Linked DNA regions of Homo sapiens: regions 1, 2, 4, 5, 6 and 7 are each linked to region 3. The links are contacts of gene promoters, found by promoter capture Hi-C in blood cells and fetal thymus (Javierre and others, 2016). All regions are on one chromosome and are shown on one strand. Each heading gives the region's core, a stretch centred on a gene start or on the middle of the fragment in contact. The rest is flanking DNA. Distances are from core to core; before and after follow the strand shown. Region 1 overlaps TRAPPC6B (trafficking protein particle complex subunit 6B). Region 2 overlaps SEC23A (SEC23 homolog A, COPII component). Region 3 holds the start of GTF2A1 (general transcription factor IIA subunit 1). Region 4 overlaps MBIP (MAP3K12 binding inhibitory protein 1). Region 5 holds the start of CFL2 (cofilin 2). Region 6 overlaps HECTD1 (HECT domain E3 ubiquitin protein ligase 1). Region 7 has its middle 9.2 kb from the start of PNN-AS1.

Region 1 (2,700 bases), core at 61-2,560, about 42 Mb before region 3:
CTAATCAACTCCATCTTGCCTTTAACCTCCAAGCTGCCCTTGGTCATTTCTGGATGCAGCCCAAGCTAACTTTGGGAGAAATTTAGTTTATAGTGTAAGCTTAAAGCAAGAATGATAATAGCCCTTCCCGAAACTAAATCACCTTTGCAAAACTAATGAAAGACTATAAGGTTAGGCTTATGAGAGGGGTCTGAATTCTGCTAAAATGTAGGTAGTTAAATGATAATCAGACATTATTCTGGAAGTCACAGATTTGTAACTTCCCCAATTACTCCTGTAAATAATATCACTATTGTAGAACCTAAAAAAGGCCTTTTGAGATGTCTTTTCAGACTTTTGCATTTCGGATGACTCCAACTGGTCCTCTGGCCCCCACCTCTGTAACTGCATCCCCAACCAACCAGGAGCACCCATTCCCCAGCCCCCAGCCTACCAAACTATCCTTGATAAACCCTAGACTCTGCATGTTTGGGGAGGCTGATTTGAGCAATAATAAAACTCTGCTCTCCCATTTAGCAGCTCTACATAAACTCCTTATTGCAATTCTCCTGTCTTGATAGATCAGCTCTACCTGGGCAGTGGGGAAGAAGAACCCACTGGGCAGTTACAATATGCTTATATGCAGACACTTTCAAATCCTATGATCACATGAGCTTTTGAATTAAGCCCTACTACTTAATTTTGCTACTTGTTCATGCACTTTTGAGTAGGCACCAAATTTTTAAGAAAAATTCAACTTGAGAACATTTTATCCATTAGCCTTTCAAAATCCATTCACCATAAATTGAGAAATGCCCAATTAGTCCATTTTAAGAGAATTCCTCTTTAAGCATAGTTTGAAAAACCTTGATTTGGAGGGTTAGAACACTGTTTCTTTCTTTTATCTCACCTCAAGTCTTATGGAAGTTTATTTTGCTATACTGAAAATTTATAAAACTTTATTTCATTTAAAAAAACTTTCCATAACAAAAACAAAAAAAAAGACACATAATCCTGTCAGCGAGAAATGGATTTTATAGGTCTTTTCAGACATAAACAACATAGTTTTTACAGATCTTTTTATGTCTGAAAAAAATCTCTAAAAATCACCTCTGGATGACAGGATTATGTATCTTTTACATTTTTCATGATGAAAAATTTCAAGCACACTCAAAGTATGGACACTAATGTGAACCCTTATATACCCGTATTTCAGTATGGGTTCTGATTATGAAGACTACCACATAACTGTTATTTATATAATTTTTGCTTATTATGTACTTTCAATTTTCCCCCCCATCATAAATACACTGCAGTAGAAAAAGAAAGTTATTTTTAGCTTAAATGATTCAAAACTATGAACTTCCTTTCTCTTGTATGTTAGTCCATCTCTTAAAATTATCAGGCCTGAGTAGAACAGCTCTGTTCATTTTATTTAGGATTAACCCACGGGAAAAAAAAAAGATATTTTAAAAAGAAGAAAAAATATTATTCTAGACAAGAGTCAGAAAAGGGCCAGGCGCAGTGGCTTACGCTTGTAATCCCAGCACTTTGGGAGGCCAAGGCGGGCAGATCACCTGAGGTCAGAAGTTCAAGAACAGCCTGGTCAACAGGGTGAAACTCCGTCTCTACTAAAAATACAAAAAAATTAGTCAGGCATGGTGGCCGGCACCTGTAATTCCAGATACTCAGGAGGCTGAAGCAGGAGAATCGCTTGAACCCAAGAGGCGGAGGCTGCAGTGAGCTGAGATCACACCACTGCACTCCAGCCTGGGAGACAAGAACAAAACTCCATCTAAAAAAAAAAAAAAAGAGAGAGAGAGAAGAGGAAAGGTAAGAAGGGAGGGGAGAATGAAGAGAACTGAATACGCAAGTGGTTTGGGGGGATCGGGGGTTATGACAAAAAAGTAAAAGGGGTGTGTTAACTGTTCTAGAGGGAAAAGGAAGGCTAGCTTTGCACAAACAGTAAACCTTGAGGTCAATAATAAAGTCAGAAGTTTGTGACTTGAAAAAAATCTCTATTATAGATGGGTCATTTGAATAAGAATAGAATTCGCTTCATTTCCAATAACCTTCCAAATGTATCCTGCCTATCCTTCTTGTGCAAACTGGCAGTACCTTTTTTTGGATGTCATACAGGCACCTCAAAAGTTCAACCTGCCCCGAAATAACTCATTATCTTACCTCCTTATTTTTTTCTTCTCCTTTATTTCCTTTTCTGATTAATAGTACCACCATCCAACCCAGCTGCTCAAGCTGAAAACCTGACGATAATTTTCAACTCCCACTCCCATCCTTAAACAAGGCCTACAGAATTCCACTTTCTAACTTTCAAATCTGTTATCTCCTTTTCTCACTATCCCTGTCTTAATCCAGATCTTCATCTCCTCCTGCAGTGACTCCCGTAATAAAGGATTTTCCCCCTACAAGGATCTTCCCTCTCTAGCCCAAACACTGGATTACTTTTCTAAAATGCAAATGGTCCACATCATTCCCTTCCTTAAAAATATTCCCTCGAAAAGATCCGAATTCTTTAATTACACAAAGCTTTCTAACTTCACCTCTCAATTCTTCTCACTCTCTATTCAGTCTAGTCCAAAGAAATGCTTAAGTGTATTTAAATCCACCACTCTTTCATACCTCTACCACTTTATCTTTGCCTAGGATACATTTCCTATCCCCACTCTCCACTCATTTTTTATCAATAGCATTAAAGAAAGG
Region 2 (2,700 bases), core at 174-2,673, about 42 Mb before region 3:
TAAAATTTCAGTATAATAATTTAAGTTTACTAACCAAGGGAAGAGGATGCACTCTGGGGAGGGACCAGTATCAAAAGACAGCTCCATTTTTACTGTCTAAATGCCTAGGTAGGATGCCGGCTTTCCTACGTAGGCAACAGCTCTATCTCATGCTCTCAAACTGCAACAGTAGTTAGTCATGGAAGGAAGCTGAAGAATTTAAAGGTGTGGGAGGACAAAGACATTCAAGTGTTATGCAGCAGACAGGAAGGACGTCAAGTTGAAAGAAGTGAACTGTGAACCTAGGGTGCCTGGAAAACCCAACATGGATGTTTAAAGTTGCTAAGAGCAATAGTGGGACAAGAAGCTGATTCTAAAATTTAAGTGAAGAAAGAAGAGATATTATTTGGGGGGAAAAAGTTAGATATAACAATTTTAATTTTAGAAAATCTTTCAAATAAATTTTCATAAAACAAATGGCAGAAAGTGAAGCTTAACAAATCTAAGCATTCCAAGCAGTTAAGAACTTTCTCTTCTTTAAATAAGAAAATAAAAATTAAAGAAAACACTGTATTTCCTCCAATTGTGCCAGAATCTTGGAGACAGCTAGAAAATCTTACGCTAATCAAAAAAGATTGTGGTTTTTCAAAGGTGCATAAAGGGTAAAGAGAAATCCCAAGACTAAACTTGTTTAGAAAAGACTATTTTGGGCCGGGTGCAGTGGCTCAAGCCTGTAATCCCAGCACTTTGGGAGGCTGAGGCAGGTGGATCACCTGAGATCAGGAGTTCAAGACCAGCCTGGTCAACATGGCAAAACCCCGTCTCTACTAAAAACACACAAAAAAATTAGCTGGGCAGGGTGGCATGCACCTGTAATCCCAGCTACTCAGGAGGCTGAGGCAGGAGAATCGCTTGAACTGGGGGGGCAGAGGTTGTGGTGAGCTGAGATTGCACCACTGCACTCCAGCCTGGGCGACAGAACAAGACTCCATCTCAAAAAAAAAAACAAAACTATTTTGAAGGTAAATATAGAAGGCAGCTTTGAGAAGGGTGGTATGAGCTTTCAAGGAAAAGTGTTGAAAGATAATGATAAAACAAAGGTGTGGGATATTCAGAGGAGAGTTAGAAGATGTCAAACTCCACCGTAACATAGGTGGCAATAAAGAAAAAACAACCAGGACGTGGGGGTGAGGGGGAGATTAGAAATCCAGTTTTTAGCAACAGCTTCCATGTTACTGATGTGAATATAAATTCTAAGACTATGCAAACCTCTTCCACATTTATTATACAGAACATAAGGCAAATAAAATTGTGTTTACTACTTAATTGCTCCTATAATTTAAGAAGCATGTACACGCCTACTATGTACCCACAAAAATTAAAAATAAAAAAAATTTTAAGGCCAGGCACAGTGGCTCACGCCTGTAATCCTAGCACTTTGGGAGGCTGAGGCCAGCGGATCGCTTGAGGTAGGAGTTCAAGACCAGCCTGGCCAACATGGTGAAACCCCATCTCTACCAAAAATACAAAAATTAGCTGAGCTGGTGGTGAGTGCCTGTAATCCCAGCTACTCAGGAGGCTAAGGCAGGAGAATCACTTGAACCCGGGAGGTGGAGGTTGCAGTGAGCCGAGATCATGCCACTGCACTCTAGCCTGGGCGACAGAGTGAGACTCCTTCTCAAAAAAAAAAAAAATTTAATAAAATAAAATGAAATCAGAACAGGGATGACTACATTTGACAAAAAATAAGTCATAAGAAATCCAGTGTTATTAAGAAAAAATAAAAATTCTAATGTGCCATAACAAAAAAAAAAAATAAAATGCATCTAAAACACATCTGCAAAAGGCATTAAAATAGCTGAAACACAAAACAAAAAATGTTTTCAATGACTGTTTTCTCAATTCTCCCAAGGATAGTACATAACTAGTACTTAGGTATTACACAGATATTTTCTCAAAAATGTATGAAGTAAACCTATCACTTCATAGAAAACAACTTATAGTATTTTTTGCCAATGATAAAAATTTGAGCTTTCAAGCAAACATTAAATTGTTTTTGGGTTTTTTTTTTTTTTTTTTTTTTTGACACGGAGTCTCACTCTGTCACCAGGCTGGAGTGCAGTGGGGCAATCTCAGCTCACTGCAACCTCTGCCTCCCGGGTTCAAGCGATTCCCCTGCCTCAGCCTCCCAAGTAGCTGGGACTACATGCGCGTGCCACCATACCCAGCTAATTTTTTGTATTTTTAGTAGAGACAGGGTTTCACCATGTTGGCCAGGATGATCTCAATTGTCTGACCTCGTGATCCGCCGGCCTCGGCCTCCCAAAGTGCTGGGATTACATGCTTGAGGCACCGCTCCCCGCCATTAAATTGTTTTAAAACTTGTGCCTGCTACCATAAGCTTGACAAGTTCCTAATATGTAAAGATTTTTCTGATGAGATCAGTGTTGGTATTAATGTAATTTGTTTGATAGTATATAACAAAATGTATTAACATTTAGAAGATATACATTACTCAGTGAAGCAATATCTTCCAAACCGTCAATTTGTGATATGAAAATATCACACATGGGTAGATGATCCATTCAAAGTGTAGAATAGGCCAATGAGTTTTAAGGTAACAAAGTACAAAAAGGTCACTCCTAAGCTTTCAGATTCCACACTGCAATTAACCTTTTAATTTATTAATTAATCCTTCATACAATTCAACCAAAACAATAT
Region 3 (2,787 bases), core at 104-2,603:
ATTTGGGACCGGGCAAAAAACGTGTTTTATTGTCATCATAAAAATAAGAGTTGGGTGGACTAGTGATCACACTGCGTTGGTGACTGAAAAGGTTATTTATGTGACTGCTTTTTGCAAACCTACGTGATCGCAAGTAACAAAAAGGGACCAACGGGAAGAAGTAGGTAAATTTCAAGGCGAAAGCGGGGACACTTGGACCACTGCAGGCTTTTTTTGTTTGTTTTGGTGCTTCTGCTAGGCGAAGATACGATGGGGGTCTTCCCCTTCGCCATTTTACCCATTCGGAAGGAACTGAGATAAGTGCTTTTCAACCAACCTTCGTCCTTTTTTTAAACATAAAATGGCCTCAGAGAAGGTTCCCAAAGCACAGCCGCCAAAAACAACCTAAGAAACCCCCAAAGTAACCATTAATCTTCCACTGCATTAAAGTGGATCACGATGGGTCTCGGGGGTTCGCCCGATTCCCCACACACAGTTTTTGTTCTGTAGCCACTCGGGGAGCCCTCGTCAAGCCAGCGCGGACGGGCCCCTCGGGGGGAAGCGGCGGCTCCCCTCCCGCCCTCCCTCCCGGCGGCCGGGTTCTGGGGCCGGGGCTGCGCGCCCGACCGGGCCCAACCGCCTCCGCGGCCCGGCCCGGCCCGCGGCGGCCCCAGGCCCCACCGGCGCCCCCGCCCTCCCCGCGCCGCGAGCCCTCGGCGCCCCCCCGCGCCCGCCGCCCGGCGCTCCGGCCCGATCCGCCCGAGGCGGGAAGCGGCGGCGGCGGCGGCCGCGCGGGCGGCTGAAGAGTCGAGGCCGGGAGTCGCCGCCGTCCCCGCCCCCGCCCGGTCCGGCCGTTGCTGCAGCCTGAACGAAGCCCCCGCCGGCCACCGAACCACGTCCTTACCACGGTGTTTGTATTTGCCGAGTTCGCCATTTCCACACACAACACAAACAAGAGGGGGCAACCCCAAGAAAACAAGATAAAAACAAAACCAAAAAAAAAAAAACTATAACACCCGGAGGGTGACCCAAATCACCGCAAGATTGGGGAAAAAATTTTAAACAAAATCAATCCTGAAGGAGTAGGGGAGAGCGGAGAGAGGAGGAGGAGGGGGGCACTCCTCCCGCAGCTGAAAACCTCGAGAATCGCCTTAAAAAAAAAAAAAAAGCCACGACCCTTCAGGGGTCCGGGGGGCGTTGCCCGCTCCCCACCCCGCGCCAAGGAGGGAAACCACCACCGGTCACCGCTCCCTGCGCCGCCGCTGCCGCCACCGGCTGCAGCTCCAGCCGTCCGGTCCGCCCGCTTCTCTCCTTTATATAGCGAGCCAACAAGCTGCGCGAGCCACCACCGCCGCCGCCGCCGCCGCCGAGAGACAGGGTGAAGGGGGAGGGAGGGGCGGAAAGGGCGGGGGCAGAGGTGGGCGGGGCTGAGCGCGAGACACCGCGAGAGCCGCGTGCGCAGGCGCGCCGGGGCGGAGGCCGCCGGCGAGCCGCGTTGTCACGCGCCGTGGCGGGTACTGGACTGGCGGAGCCCGGGGAGTGAAGTAGTGAAATCGGACCTACGCCTCTCCAACGCTCGCGTGATCACGTGGTTGGCACCCAGGCGGAAGTCTGCGGCAGTTCTTTGCGGTGAAGAACTTGCAAAGCGTTGCTGGAAAAGACGGGAGTTCTACTGACACTCCAGTCCAAAGCTAGGTGGGACCGCCTCCTGTCGCACGTTTCCGCCTGGTCCCGCGCTTTAGGAGCTAGGAAATGTGACAGAGGCGGTGCCTACTGCCTCGCTAGGAATGGCCGCGGAGGAGGACTGGTCACGTGGCGTGGCTTCCGGCCTCTGGCGCGTTCCTATTCGGGAAGGTTTTAAATGCGGAGTCATCTCTTGATTTGTCAGCGAGGCTTTGACTGTGAGCTTCGCGGCGTTCGCGCCTCACCGCCTCACCGAGGGTGGGTCTTTCGCGCGCAGAATTGTGTAGGATTTTCCAAAGGGAGTAAAAGCCGATCGGGGCCTACTTTTAACATTCCACAATTAGTAACGTCTGATTCGTTTGTTTCCACAGTGGGTACGCTGCGAAGACTAGGCTTATGTTACCCAGAGGTTAGTCCTCTACTAGGCCACGTACTTTAAATAATTTATCACGCTAGTGGAAATGCGGGGTGGAAGAAAACCCCACCAGCCTTTGGATTGTAACAGCACAGTAACTTTCCCTGGTTTTTAAAAATATTGCCAAAATACTGCGACTCCATGTGGCCAACGTATAGTGACTGATCACTTTGAAATGCATGCCCTTGACCCACCAACTCGCATGGCCTCTCGCTATAAGAGAGCAAGCCGGCTGTGTTCCATGTTCAATTCAATAAGTGCAATTCAATAAGCTTTTGACTTGTTCTGCCCAAGCAAATCCTGCCTTTATATCGACCTTGCAAGCAGAACAGAGAATGCTGTTTGGAAGGCAGAATTCATAGTACCTAGTTTTCTTGTCCCTGGGAATTTTGAGGGACTTGAAATGTCGCGTGGATGAGTGAGGGAGTTTGTCTTCCAGAGACAAAGCAAAACGAAACGTCAAAGTTCTGTGCTGGTGAAACCAGATTTGAAGAATATCAAAGGCGTCTTACCAAAGAGGAAAAAAAATGCATCTTGCCAAGACTTGAAGAAAGGGATTAGAGAAACCAGAGGCCTTGAATACTCAGAAAATGGGAGATTGTGAATGGGTGTAGAGGATATCTATGAACCTTGACATTTCTTTTCACGCCAAGTCCATTCCCCTGTTAACAGTTGCTTCCCAGTTTCCTGCACAGCTGCATGGTCTGGGA
Region 4 (2,782 bases), core at 204-2,703, about 45 Mb before region 3:
TACAAAATAAAGGTGTTACGTGAGTTCAAATACAGATTTTATGAGTCACAATTATAATAAAAAAGATGAATCACTGTACAAAGATCAAAAAGATATAAGGTTACCAATAAAAAGATAATATATTGAATAAATACTATGTGACAGAAATTTACTGCCCTTTGAAGATGAGAATGGAAGCATTTAAAAGTCCATATTAGACAAGTATAAAGAGATATGAAATTTCATGTAGGCTGCACTGGCAAAGATTAGAATATATTAAGATTGTACATTAAAGTTAATGCATTAATTTATATTACTTTAATTCCTATAAAGATTTTGTTAGACAACAACCTGTATTATGTATGGAAGTAACCCATTAATGTACTTTCATAGTCTTCAAGGAGATCTATAGTTGATTATAGAAAACTTAAGAATACAGCTTGGGGATAAAGCAGGCAAATCCTCAACCAAAGCAAAGTATCACATTTTCTAGAGAAAATAACTTATAGAAAAATAAGTCTTAATGTTTGGTTCATATTCTCATTTCAATTCAGCAGAATTACATAAGCTTCAAGTGCAATTAAGAATAATTAGTCTTTTAAGAAAACCACATAATGTCACAAATTAATTTTAAAACTGTCCTAATACATCTAACTATTCATTCAACAAATTCATTATTAGTAATATGAACTCTATGCATTTTGCCCTACAGAACTTGGAAGAGTAAACCACTCACTCGAAAATCTCTATTAGTCTGCTATTAATATAGACTATTTAAATATATATTTTCAGTAAAAACTTTACTAAATTAATACAAAAATCCAAGCTAAAAATAAATAATTGTTTAGCTTGGTAAGATGGACCATCCAGAGGCAAGCAAAAAGGTTAAAATTAGTAAATTTTGTGATCTTAAGTAAAAAATTATTTTTAACATTCAGTTTTATGTTTCCTACTGAGGAGATCTAATAATACAACGATACTTAGGGATGACACAGGATGAAGTTAGGCATGTTACAACATACATTCTAAATATCCTTTAAAGTGGTTGCAAAAGAAAATACTGATTTCTCTGGGGGCAATTTTATAAGTATGGAACTCTAATTTTCACTCTTAACACTTCTCAAAATATAGAGTATTATGAAAACAGTTTGTATTTAATTGATGAAACAATCATATTTTTGACACTTGTATAGGAGGTCCCTTCACTGTGTCATGGTAAAGTAACCAAATATTTACTGTGAACATTTTTGACAGGTGACATAAGTAAATTGTAATCACTTCTTTACTTGTACAGTACTTGAATGTTTAAAATTTTCTAATGAGTTTGAAAAATTCAGTATGCAAAATATTTCAAAAGAAATGTTTAAATCATTGCTCAGTATTTTTTAAAAATATTCCATCTTCTGTTAACAGGTGAGAATAAACTTTTTTCATCTTGACATTATAAAATAAATAAACTTAAGTTCCAACGTCGCCATAAAAAGTTCTCTAACTTTTAAACCATTTAAACGTCTTGGGTCTTAAGAATGGAATGTTAATAACAAAACACCCCAAGTCTTTAAAAAATGTTTTTGGTAAGTACTTGGCAAACAACTGAATTTAAAAGTTATATCTTTAAGCAGACTCCATTAATAACTGCGTCATTTCATAAAACCGTTTAACTTACAGTAATGTTCTTTGTAAGACACAACATACTACGATTTTTAAAAATAGTAACTTCTTAAAAGACTGATTCTCCATCTACTCAAGGCTTTAAAAATAATTTTCACAAATCAGACAAATGTTCTATTTTCATAGGAATTTACCATTATCTTTGACACAAATGCCTGCTTTGTCCACTTGCGCTAGTACCAGCCCCAAAACAAACTTTTACGGCTAGAAAATGGTCTATGTAAGATAGAAAATATTTCCTTTTAAAAGGCAGGTAAACAAGCATACTTTTAAATTGTTTCTCATTTAAAACTTGAATTTTACACCATGAAACGAAACAGTGACTTGATCGAAGAAGCCCATTTCAATTTAAAACCAATTTTACTATGACATTTCTGCAAAAGCGATTTATCAGCCAGTTAAACTAGTTAATAGTTAAATAACGACAGTTCTAACGCCAACAGCATTTTACGCTAGAAGTATTTTAAATGAATTCCTTTTACTTTTCTCCCCATTTGAAAGGATTATAGATGCGCAAAACAGCCCGAAGGAAAAAAGAAATAAACAAAACCAAGTAACTCATAAGAACAAATTACTCCCTCCCCCACCAAAAAAAGCTAATAAGCGCGCGCTTTTCTATAAATCTCAGGCCTACTGACCAACCAATTCCCATAAAGAGTAAGTTGGAGGAAAAAGGACCCTGAACGCTAAGCGCCTCCTAAACTCGCAGTGAAGCTTTTCCACATTCATTCTCTCCAAGCCTGCCTCTCTCGGAGCCGGGTTTTCACTTAGGCCAACCTCACCCACTCTTGGGGAGGACAGCTGCAAGGTAAACGACTCTGCAACCGGTACCGCCGTCCTCCTCACTCCGACCGAGGAGGCTGGGCCCGGGCTCCTTCCACACCTCGGCTTCGGGACCGCATCCCACACCTCTGCAGGCCTAGCTGCCCCCGGCCTCTGCTAGAGAAAAAGAATGGCGAGGAGGGACCGGATGGTTTCCATATTCCCAGTCCCTCAGGCCACCTCTCACCTGTCCAACCAGGGTGTGTAGGGAGCGAAAGATTTCGTAGAGCACCTCTCGGGAGAGGTTGGGTCTGCATCTTCGCTCCAGGTTCCTGTCACCGCTGCTCGGGCGATTAAGCTCCGTGGCAGC
Region 5 (2,700 bases), core at 43-2,542, about 47 Mb before region 3:
TGTGGCATCGTACAAAGCATATCGGCAATCATTCAGAGGTAGCAACTTCACAAAAGATGTGTAGGGGTCCTCTACAGTATCACCAATGTCACCCACCAAGATCTGCTTTGCTTCCTCTACAATTATTTGTCTTTTGTCATCGCTTAAACAGAAGAGAACTGCTTTCTTTCTCTTTTTGATCTCCTCTTGTGTAGAAGATTTCCTTACTTTCATATCATTAAAAACTTTGATGACTTCATCATTCACTGTAACTCCAGAAGCCTGAAAATAAACACAGAACAGTAATTCAGAACACGTATTTTGGTTTTAACCAAAATTACTGTTTGCCTAGAGAAGACTCACTTTAGTCTGGACATCAAAAATTGCACCGTACCATGTAAGTCGTCCAATCAGATTTGTCACATTTTAAGAATCAGTAGACGATACAGCGAAGGAGTCTAACTCATCCTGCCCATTCATCCTTCTTAAAGGGGTTTGGACGTGGAAGCGAAAGGGACAAATACAAGTTGTCCCATCCCTGAAATGTTTCCTATTTCACTGGGTGATGTCAGAGCTTCAGGAGTGGCAGCAAAAATACCTTCTGTATTGTGTCAACTCGGCTGGCCTTAAAAAAACACTTTTGGATTTCAGTTAATGCTTCTACTATTTTTTTCTTTAAAGTCATCCTAGCCACTGACGTTTCCTCATAAGGAAAGAGAATCAAGTGTAAACTCCAAACCGCCCACGGCCCACACACAGCTCACATGCAGACACTCCAAAACTAACTGATCGAGTGTAAAAGCTTTTACGGCGAGAAAGCATTTTAAAAAGTGTTTTCCCTCTTCCTTAATCTCCCCGTAAGGGTTTTATTACAGGCCGTCCAGACCCTGACCCACACAGCGTTCGCAGCACGTACCAATTTTAAAGCCTCGCGTGTTAAGTAAAATTAGGAAGCGAAGGGCAAAGGCGGCGCGAGCGGCTGCAGTCCGCAGACCCTCTCGCGCCCCCGCCCGCCCGGCCCCGACCCCCAACCTGCGCCGACGCCCGGGCCCTCCCCGCCCCCCAAAATCCAAAGAGCAGCAGGGCAGGGCCTGACGGCCGGAGGGCAGGCCGGTCGGCTGGAGAGCAGCGGAGCCGCAGAGCAGAAGCGCCCACCTTGGAGGCCAAAATCAGGTTAAAATGGCGGCCTCACTCCCGGGGCCGTGCGGGGGGCTTTTCTCGCCTCGCCGCGGCCTCCCGGCCAGCGCGCTCGTCTTACCATAGTGCCCTCGGCTGTGGCTGCGGCGGCAGCTCGGGCTTCGGCTCTGTGGCACTGGGAGGAGAAGGAGGGGCGGGCGAGCGGGTGGGCAGCGGAGAGTGCGGGGCACGCCGGGAGCTGCAGCCCGAGGGAGGTGGCGGGGCTCGGCGGGCCGCAGGCAGCGGGCGGGGCGGTCACGTGGGCACGCCTGGTCCCCAGCCGGCGCCACCCGCTCCCAGGCCGGCCCTTCTGTCTCGCGGCCCCGGCTCCCCGGCTGTCCGCGTCCTCGGCCTGACCTCAGAGCGCGAGCCCTGCAGGCCGGGGGGGGCGACGCGGTGGTAGCGGAGCCCGGGAGCCTGGCAGAGCCGCCTCCAGCCCCCGAGCATCACCCGTCAAGCCGGTGGGAGAGAGTGCTGGGCTCCCAGAGGGGCGTTTCCACCGCCTCCGTAGGGCCCTGCGCCAGGGGTGGGTGCGTGTGAGGGGAACTCCTGCGAAGGTGTCTTTCCTTATTTACCTGTGGTTTTCCCGAAAGAGGCTGGATTTCGACATTTTGAGTCTTTTTGGAAAACCCCCAGTTGTTTAGAGATAAATGAGAATAAATACTACACGAGATTGCTCCAGTTGATAGTACTTAGCAAAAACAAAATGATACGCAGTGTTGGTAAATCACTTTTCAAAACTCTGGTTGAAATAATAATTATGATTAAAAAATTACGTGGTAGCATTCCTTAGTAATATCCTTTTACATTTTAGACTTCATAGGAAATGGATTGTACTCTCTCTTAGAGATTTCATGAAGCTCCAGCTATGACAGCTGATATCAAATAAGCCGACGCAGCCTCTTCTAGCAAAGCCCATATAACTGCGCCAAGGCAGTTTCTCTTTTTTTAATCTTAACTCCTCCATACCTCAGGGTTCTTCATGTGTAAAACAAACTGTTATTAAATTATCGTTAAGGCCCTTTCCAGCTTTAGATTTCAGTTTCTGAGTATATCAATGTTCAGTAGGAAATGGTGTGTTTTTGGTGGTCTCAGGATTGAGGTTAGGCAGGAAAGTCATGAGATGGTGTTTGCCCTAGATTGCGTGATAAGTTCTTTCAGCCCAAATTTACTGTATTTTAAATGGAACATGCTAGGCATTGAAACAGACCTATTTTTCTGTCTATATCTTGGGTTTGTTTTCTTAATTGGAAGATAGACTTCGTTTAGAGACAAAAATTGAGAAGGGATTTCCCAATGTCTAAGCATGAATCCCAAGCAAGTGGATAATACTTTATATCTAGCTGGTACATTACAATTTATGGAACCTTTCACTTTATCTGTTGAACTTCCAAGAAGTCATGGAGAATGTCTCTCCAGAGCTCTGATCATCTGCTATGTGTAGGTATTAGCAAATTCCTGTTCGCTTCATCTTGCGGTTACCTTCCCTTCCCAACCTCAGAGATTTGCAGCAGCCCCAGCAGAGACCAGGTCTGATGACACTGG
Region 6 (2,824 bases), core at 196-2,695, about 50 Mb before region 3:
ACTATATTATTAATATAATACCAATAGATTAGGAAGCCTATTTAGGAAACTTTAGGATCAATCAGTCTATACAGAACTCCTGTCAGAGTAGTCAACCACACAAGTGAGATTATGAAGAATCTTCAGATGACTCCAAATTAGGCACTGGTTTCCAAAATGCTACCTGTAAAGACATCAGAATCTTTCCCTGATGGAAGCAATAAAAAAAGGTTACATGAGGTTCCAAAGAGAAAGAATTTCCCTGGGAACTGTAATATTTTCTGTATTATAACTACCATATGCTTTTTTCACTTGAACTTGGGCCAAGATTTCAGAAGATTGGCAAAGACATGAAAGAATATAACTGTTTTTAAAAAAAATAAAGGGCATTATCTGTAGTAGAGATATTTTATAAAATAGTCTGTAAATCAGGCACTTCATTTTAAAAAAATGAAATATTTTAACTGAAAAACCTGAACACATCTGGTTTCTTAAAGACAATAAATAACGCAACATCTTTTGATCCATTTCATATTCCATTTTTGCCTCTGCTCCCAGCCTTGACTTTCTTGGTATTGCTGAGCTAAAAATAACTCCTGGTACAGCAGCTGAAAATTGTGGTTTTCCCTTGCAAAGAAAAAGGGGGTAAAGTCCAATTATAAGATGTAAGTTTGCTTTTCTCCAATTAAAATACACATACAAATTTGACTGCAATTCATTCAACACATCTATTGAATGCCTTTCTACACCAAGTGCTATGCTAAGTGTTGGGGGTGGGACACAAAGATGAGTAAGAAAGAGTTCACTGACTCTGAAGAATTCAATCTAATGATACAGTCAAGAACTATGCAAAGTACACTTACAAAGCGTTATAAAACACAATGTCATACCCATAAATAAAAATGATAAAAATCTATCTCTGATAAATTTTCCTTGTATTTTTCCTGTTGAAACTATTAAGAGTGGTTTTTAACTTTTTTTTTTTTTGAGACAAGGTCTCACTCTGTAGCCCAGGCTGCAGCACAGTGGTGCAATTTCGGCTCACTGCAACCTCCGCCTCCCAGGGTCAAGCAATTCTCCTGCCTCAGACTCCCAAGTAGCTGAGATTACAGGCGCATGCCACCAGACCTCTGCTAATTTTTGTATTTTTAGTAGAGATGGGGTTTCACCATATTGGCCAGACTGGTCTCAAACTCGCGACATCAGGTGATCCACCCGCCCTGGCCTCCCATAGTGCTGGGATTACAGGCATGAGCCACCAGTGGAGCCTGGCCTCTACATTTTTTTAGCTGACAGAAACTCTGGTAATCGTCACAAAAGCTCCCTGAATTTAATCACCTATGGACCCCCTGGAGTCCCAGGTAAACCCTCACAGACAGTGTTTCTCATTCCAGCACTTCTCTCTGCTGTCCACTGAAAAGAAGCACATACACAGTTGCTGTCTGTTTACAGGAATTCATTTAACTTTTTTTTTTTTTTTGAGACGGAGTCTCACTCTGTCTCCCAGGCTGGAGTGTGGTAGTGCAATCTGGGCTCACTGCAACCTACACCTCCCGAGTTCAAGCGATTCTCGTGCCTCAGCCTCCTGAGAAGCTGGGATTACAGGAATGTGCCACCACACCCTGCTAATTTTTCTATTTTTAGTAGGGAGGGGGTTTCTTCGCCATGTTGGCCAGGTTGGACTTGTACTCCGGAATTTAAGTCATCCACCTGACTCAGCCTCCCAAAGTATCGGGATTACAAGCATGAGCCACCGTGTTCAGCTCATTTATTTAACTCTTGAGGATTATACATATTTGATATATCAATGAACATTCCTTCTCCAGTAAAGGGTCAGGGCTGATCAACAAAAGTAATTCATTTCCCTATTACTCTGCCATTGGGTAGAAGAAAACAGGTCAATATAGAAAAGGCAGGTACAGGTCGGGCGCAGTGGCTCACACCTGTAATCCCAGCACTTTGGGAGGCCGAGGCGGGAGGATCACGAGGTCAGGAGTTCGAGACCAGCCTGGCCTATATGGTGAAACCCTGTCTCTACTAAAAAATACAAAAATTGGCTGGGCATGGTGGTGTGCGCCTGTAGTCCCAGCTACTCAGAAGGCTAAGGCAGAAGCATTGCTTGAACCCGGGAGGCAGAGGTTACAGTGAGCCGAGATTGCGCCACTGCACTCCAGCCTACACGACAGAGCAAGACTCCGTCTCAAAACAAAAAAAAAAAAAAGAAAGAAAAGGCAGGTATATTAATGGTAGAAAGTAAGGAAAGTACTTATTGATACTGTATCTGCTAAAAAAAAAAACAAAAAAGAATACAATACTCTTCCTCCTGCATACTAACAACAAGTTTCTCAACTCCACAAATACCTTCCATGGGCATTTTAGGCATTAGGTGGAAAACAGGTCCAATATAAGCAATCTCTTCAATTCACTCCTTCAGTATCTGGATATTAGCTATTTGTGTGCCAGGCACTATGCTTAGCAATGGGAAAACAAAGACGAGCTCGTAGTCCAGTGGAGAACTGAAAGTATAGTAAAGTGGAAGTAGTGTATACATGTGAGAATATGCAGGAGGGGTCTTTGAAGACATTTAAATTTGATCCTGTAGGTGAAGAACCCAACAGATTCTGTAAAAGGGAGTAGCACAGGCAAATCAATTTTTAAGACTATAACTCAGGGCCAGGCACCGTGGCTGGTCTCGAACTCCTGACCTCAACTGATCCACCCACCTCGGCCTCCCAAAGTGCTGGGACTGCAGATAGGCATGAGCCACCACGCCCAGTCCCAGCCCTTAACTTTTTACCATCAAACCCAAAACATGTGCATCTAACGTCTCTATCTTCTCTGTTAC
Region 7 (2,789 bases), core at 268-2,767, about 42 Mb before region 3:
CTTAGTCTGTCACCCAGGCTGGAGTGCAGTGGCACAAACAATCTGACTGCAGCCTCGACCTCCTGGGTTCAAGGGATCCTCCCACCTCAGCCTACCAAGTACCTGGGACTACAGGTGTGCACCACCATTCCCAGTTAATTTTTTATTTTTTGTAGAGACAGGATCTCACTATGTTGCCCAGGCTGGTCTCGAACTCCTGGGCTCAAGCGTTACTCCTGCCTTGGCCTCTGAAAGTGCTGGGATTACAGGCGTGAGCCACCACTCTTGGTCTGTGTTCCAATTTTAGTATGTGCTGCTGAAGTGAGCACAGGAATTTTAATAACAGATTGTACTAACATTTTTAAGTGGTATTCATTTTTAGGTTGGAAGGTTTAATTTTTTAAATATAGTATTTTAGATTTTTTTGTTTCCGATCAGTGCTTTATCCTTGAACTAAAATTTTATGGAACTTAATGTTCAGAGAACCATGGAATTGCACTTGAAGAGACACAAGGAAGAAGAATGTAAAAGTAATGACAGTTTCCCAGGGGGAAAAGACATGCAGTAGTCTTTTTTTTTTTTTTTTTTTTTGAGATGGAGTCTCGTTCTGTCACCCAGGCTGGAGTGCAGTGGTGCGATCTCGGCTCACTGCAACCTCCGCCTCCCAGCTTCATGCAATTCTGCCTCAGCCTTCCAAGTAGCTGGGATTACAGGCGCACACCACCACACCTGGCTAATTTTTTTTTTTTTTTTTTTTTTTGTATTTTTAGTAGAGTTGGGGGTTTCACTGTGTTGGCCAGACTGGTCTCGAACTCCTGACATCGTGATCCGCCTGCCTTGGCCTCCCAAAGTGCTGGGATTACAGGCATGAGCCACGGCGCCCGGCTAACACGCAGTAGTCTTCCTACTGGAGATTACAAATTAGTGTTTATGGTTGAGTGCAGTGGCCTGTAATTCCCAACACTTTGGGAGGCTGAGGTGGAAAGATTGCTTGAGCCCAGGAGCCAGAGACCAACCTCGGCAACATGGCAAAAAACTGTCTACGAAGAGAAAAACTAGCCGATTGTGGTGGCATGAGCCTGAGTCCCAGCTACTCTGGAGGCTGAGACAGGAGGATTGCTTGAGCCCAGGAGGTTGAGGTGAAGTAGCTATGATCACACTACTGCACTCCAGCCTGGGTGACAGAGTGAGACCCTGTCTAAAAAATAACAAAAAAACCCAAATAGTGTTTATGGAAAACTTAGGAGCTGAAAGGGGATAGAGATGGTGAGTTAGGACTGAAATCAGTTTAGAGCTGTATTAGGAAAGACAGGCTGGGTGCTATGGCTCACACCTGTAATCCCAGCAATTTGGGAGGCTGAGGGTAGAGGATGGATGGCTTGAAGCCAGGAGTTCAAGACTGACCTGGGCATCAGCAAGAATCTATCTCTACAAAAAATAGAAAAATTTAGCCATGTGTGTACCTGTAGTTCTAGTTACTTCGGGGGCTGAGGTGGGAGGATTGCTTGAACCCAGGAGTTTGAGGTTATAGTGAGCTTTGATGGCACCACTGCACTCCATACTGGTGACAGACTGTCTAAAAAAAAAATTGGCAGAGATGTCTAAGGGGCTATTAAGGAAACATCTTTTAAGATACCAAGGTTTGGGTAACCACCAAAATAAAGATAGTTTGAACTTCAATGAGCTGTATTTCCAATCTAGGGTCCTTCTACACACTATCTGTAGAATGATAACAATTTACATGATTACTCAGGTAATTTGGGCAAAGCAAAAGCCACCATACCAATAATGTATTGACATAAATTCAAAAGGAAAGAGAGTAGTGATTACATGGGCCAATGCTATTAGAGTCAGTCAAGATGTGGGTTTAAAGTACATAAACAAGAATTTCTTTTATGGCTAATATTGTGTAAGAATTTTTTTATGACTAGTCAAACTTTAAAATATCTTCTGAAATCCAACGACAAATCCAACCCATTTTCCCTTTTTGAGGTTAAAATGAATGTTATTAAATCACATAGCCCAGAAAATGTAGCTATGTATTTGATTCAATACCACTACTCTAGTAAGCCAGTGGGGTAGAGACTACAACTTGGTAAAAATAAACGAGGTATCTGAGAATGTTTTTCTTACGCCTGTCTTTGTCTCAGCTAGCAGGACTTTTTTTTTTTTTTCTTTTTTTAAATAGAGATGAGAGTCTTGCCCTGTTGCCCAGGCTGGTCTCGAATTCCTGAGCTTAAGCGATCCTCCCATTTTGGCCATCCTAAGTGCTAAGATTACAGGTGTGAGCTACCATGTCCAGCCAATCTTTTCAAAAAAGGAACTTAAATAATTATACTAAAAAAAATGATGATACTCAAATGCCTGCAACTCCACTTTCCATGGCCAGTTGACTACCCTATTCAAATTTGTAATAGCTGCCACTCCTTGCCATGACTGTCCCAAAATCTTTGGTGTTGGCCGGGCACGGTGGCTCATGCCTGTAATCCCAGCACTTTGGGAGGCTGAGGCGGGCCCCTGATCATGAGGTCAGGAGATCAAGACCATCCTGGTTAACATGGTGAAAACCCCGTCTCTACTGAAAATATAAAAAATTTAGCCAGGCGTGGTGGTGGGCACCTGTAGTCCCAGCTACTCGGGAGGCTGAGGCAGGAGAATGGCATGAACCCGGGAGGCGGAGCTTGCAGTGAGCCGAGATGGCACCACTGCACTCCAGCCTGGGGGACAGAGCGAGACTCCATCAAAAAAAAAAAAAATCCTTGGTGTTAAGTGGCTTGGTCTCTCTTTCCCACTTTCTTTCCTCTCTTTCA

Evidence for each region. Contacts are between HindIII fragments. The CHiCAGO score rates a contact against its expected background, and 5 or more counts as called.
Region 1: a fragment that was not itself captured here is called in contact with the fragment with the promoter of GTF2A1 in region 3 in 1 of 17 cell types (total B cells); the score reaches 7.4 in total B cells.
Region 2: a contact is called between a fragment that was not itself captured here and the fragment with the promoter of GTF2A1 in region 3, in 1 of 17 cell types (activated CD4 T cells). The highest score is 14.6, in activated CD4 T cells.
Region 4: a contact is called between a fragment that was not itself captured here and the fragment with the promoter of GTF2A1 in region 3, in 3 of 17 cell types (naive CD4 T cells, activated CD4 T cells and total CD4 T cells). The highest score is 13.4, in naive CD4 T cells.
Region 5: a contact is called between the fragment with the promoter of CFL2 here and the fragment with the promoter of GTF2A1 in region 3, in 3 of 17 cell types (total B cells, naive B cells and non-activated CD4 T cells). The highest score is 15.9, in total B cells.
Region 6: a fragment that was not itself captured here is called in contact with the fragment with the promoter of GTF2A1 in region 3 in 1 of 17 cell types (total CD8 T cells); the score reaches 5.4 in total CD8 T cells.
Region 7: a fragment that was not itself captured here is called in contact with the fragment with the promoter of GTF2A1 in region 3 in 1 of 17 cell types (activated CD4 T cells); the score reaches 15.6 in activated CD4 T cells.

What each region holds. Positions count from the first base shown.
Region 1 is chr14:39,166,440-39,169,139 of GRCh38, forward strand. The region is part of intron 1 of TRAPPC6B (trafficking protein particle complex subunit 6B); the gene reads right to left. Among named protein-coding and RNA genes, the nearest start is that of TRAPPC6B, 2.5 kb to the right of the region's middle. The HindIII fragment of the contact is 2,427 bases long and covers 98-2,524 here.
Region 2 is chr14:39,097,115-39,099,814 of GRCh38, forward strand. All of the region lies in intron 1 of SEC23A (SEC23 homolog A, COPII component), which reads right to left. Among named protein-coding and RNA genes, the nearest start is that of SEC23A-AS1, 4.7 kb to the right of the region's middle. The HindIII fragment of the contact is 1,909 bases long and covers 470-2,378 here.
Region 3 is chr14:81,219,606-81,222,392 of GRCh38, forward strand. GTF2A1 (general transcription factor IIA subunit 1) reads right to left here and starts at 1,354. Exons shown (of 9, transcript NM_015859.4): 1 at 884-1,354. The coding sequence starts at 913. GTF2A1-AS1 (GTF2A1 antisense RNA 1) reads left to right here and starts at 1,613. Exons shown (of 2, transcript NR_135252.1): 1 at 1,613-1,920; 2 at 2,034-2,787. RefSeq lists enhancers at 1-76, 1-18, 59-148 and silencers at 489-608, 1,139-1,188, 1,219-1,518. The HindIII fragment of the contact is 3,079 bases long and covers 1-2,347 here.
Region 4 is chr14:36,317,801-36,320,582 of GRCh38, forward strand. MBIP (MAP3K12 binding inhibitory protein 1) reads right to left here. Exons shown (of 9, transcript NM_016586.3): 1 at 2,660-2,782. Among named protein-coding and RNA genes, the nearest start is that of MBIP, 1.4 kb to the right of the region's middle. RefSeq lists an enhancer at 2,526-2,782. The HindIII fragment of the contact is 1,817 bases long and covers 546-2,362 here.
Region 5 is chr14:34,713,301-34,716,000 of GRCh38, forward strand. It overlaps CFL2 (cofilin 2), which reads right to left and starts at 1,293. Exons shown (of 4, transcript NM_138638.5): 1 at 1,238-1,293; 2 at 1-261. The coding sequence starts at 1,240. RefSeq lists silencers at 990-1,049, 1,140-1,729. The HindIII fragment of the contact is 2,283 bases long and covers 780-2,700 here.
Region 6 is chr14:31,194,573-31,197,396 of GRCh38, forward strand. All of the region lies in intron 2 of HECTD1 (HECT domain E3 ubiquitin protein ligase 1), which reads right to left. Among named protein-coding and RNA genes, the nearest start is that of HECTD1, 12 kb to the right of the region's middle. The HindIII fragment of the contact is 3,027 bases long and covers 1-2,824 here.
Region 7 is chr14:39,183,717-39,186,505 of GRCh38, forward strand. No RefSeq gene overlaps it. Among named protein-coding and RNA genes, the nearest start is that of PNN-AS1, 9.2 kb to the left of the region's middle. The HindIII fragment of the contact is 9,645 bases long and covers 1-2,789 here.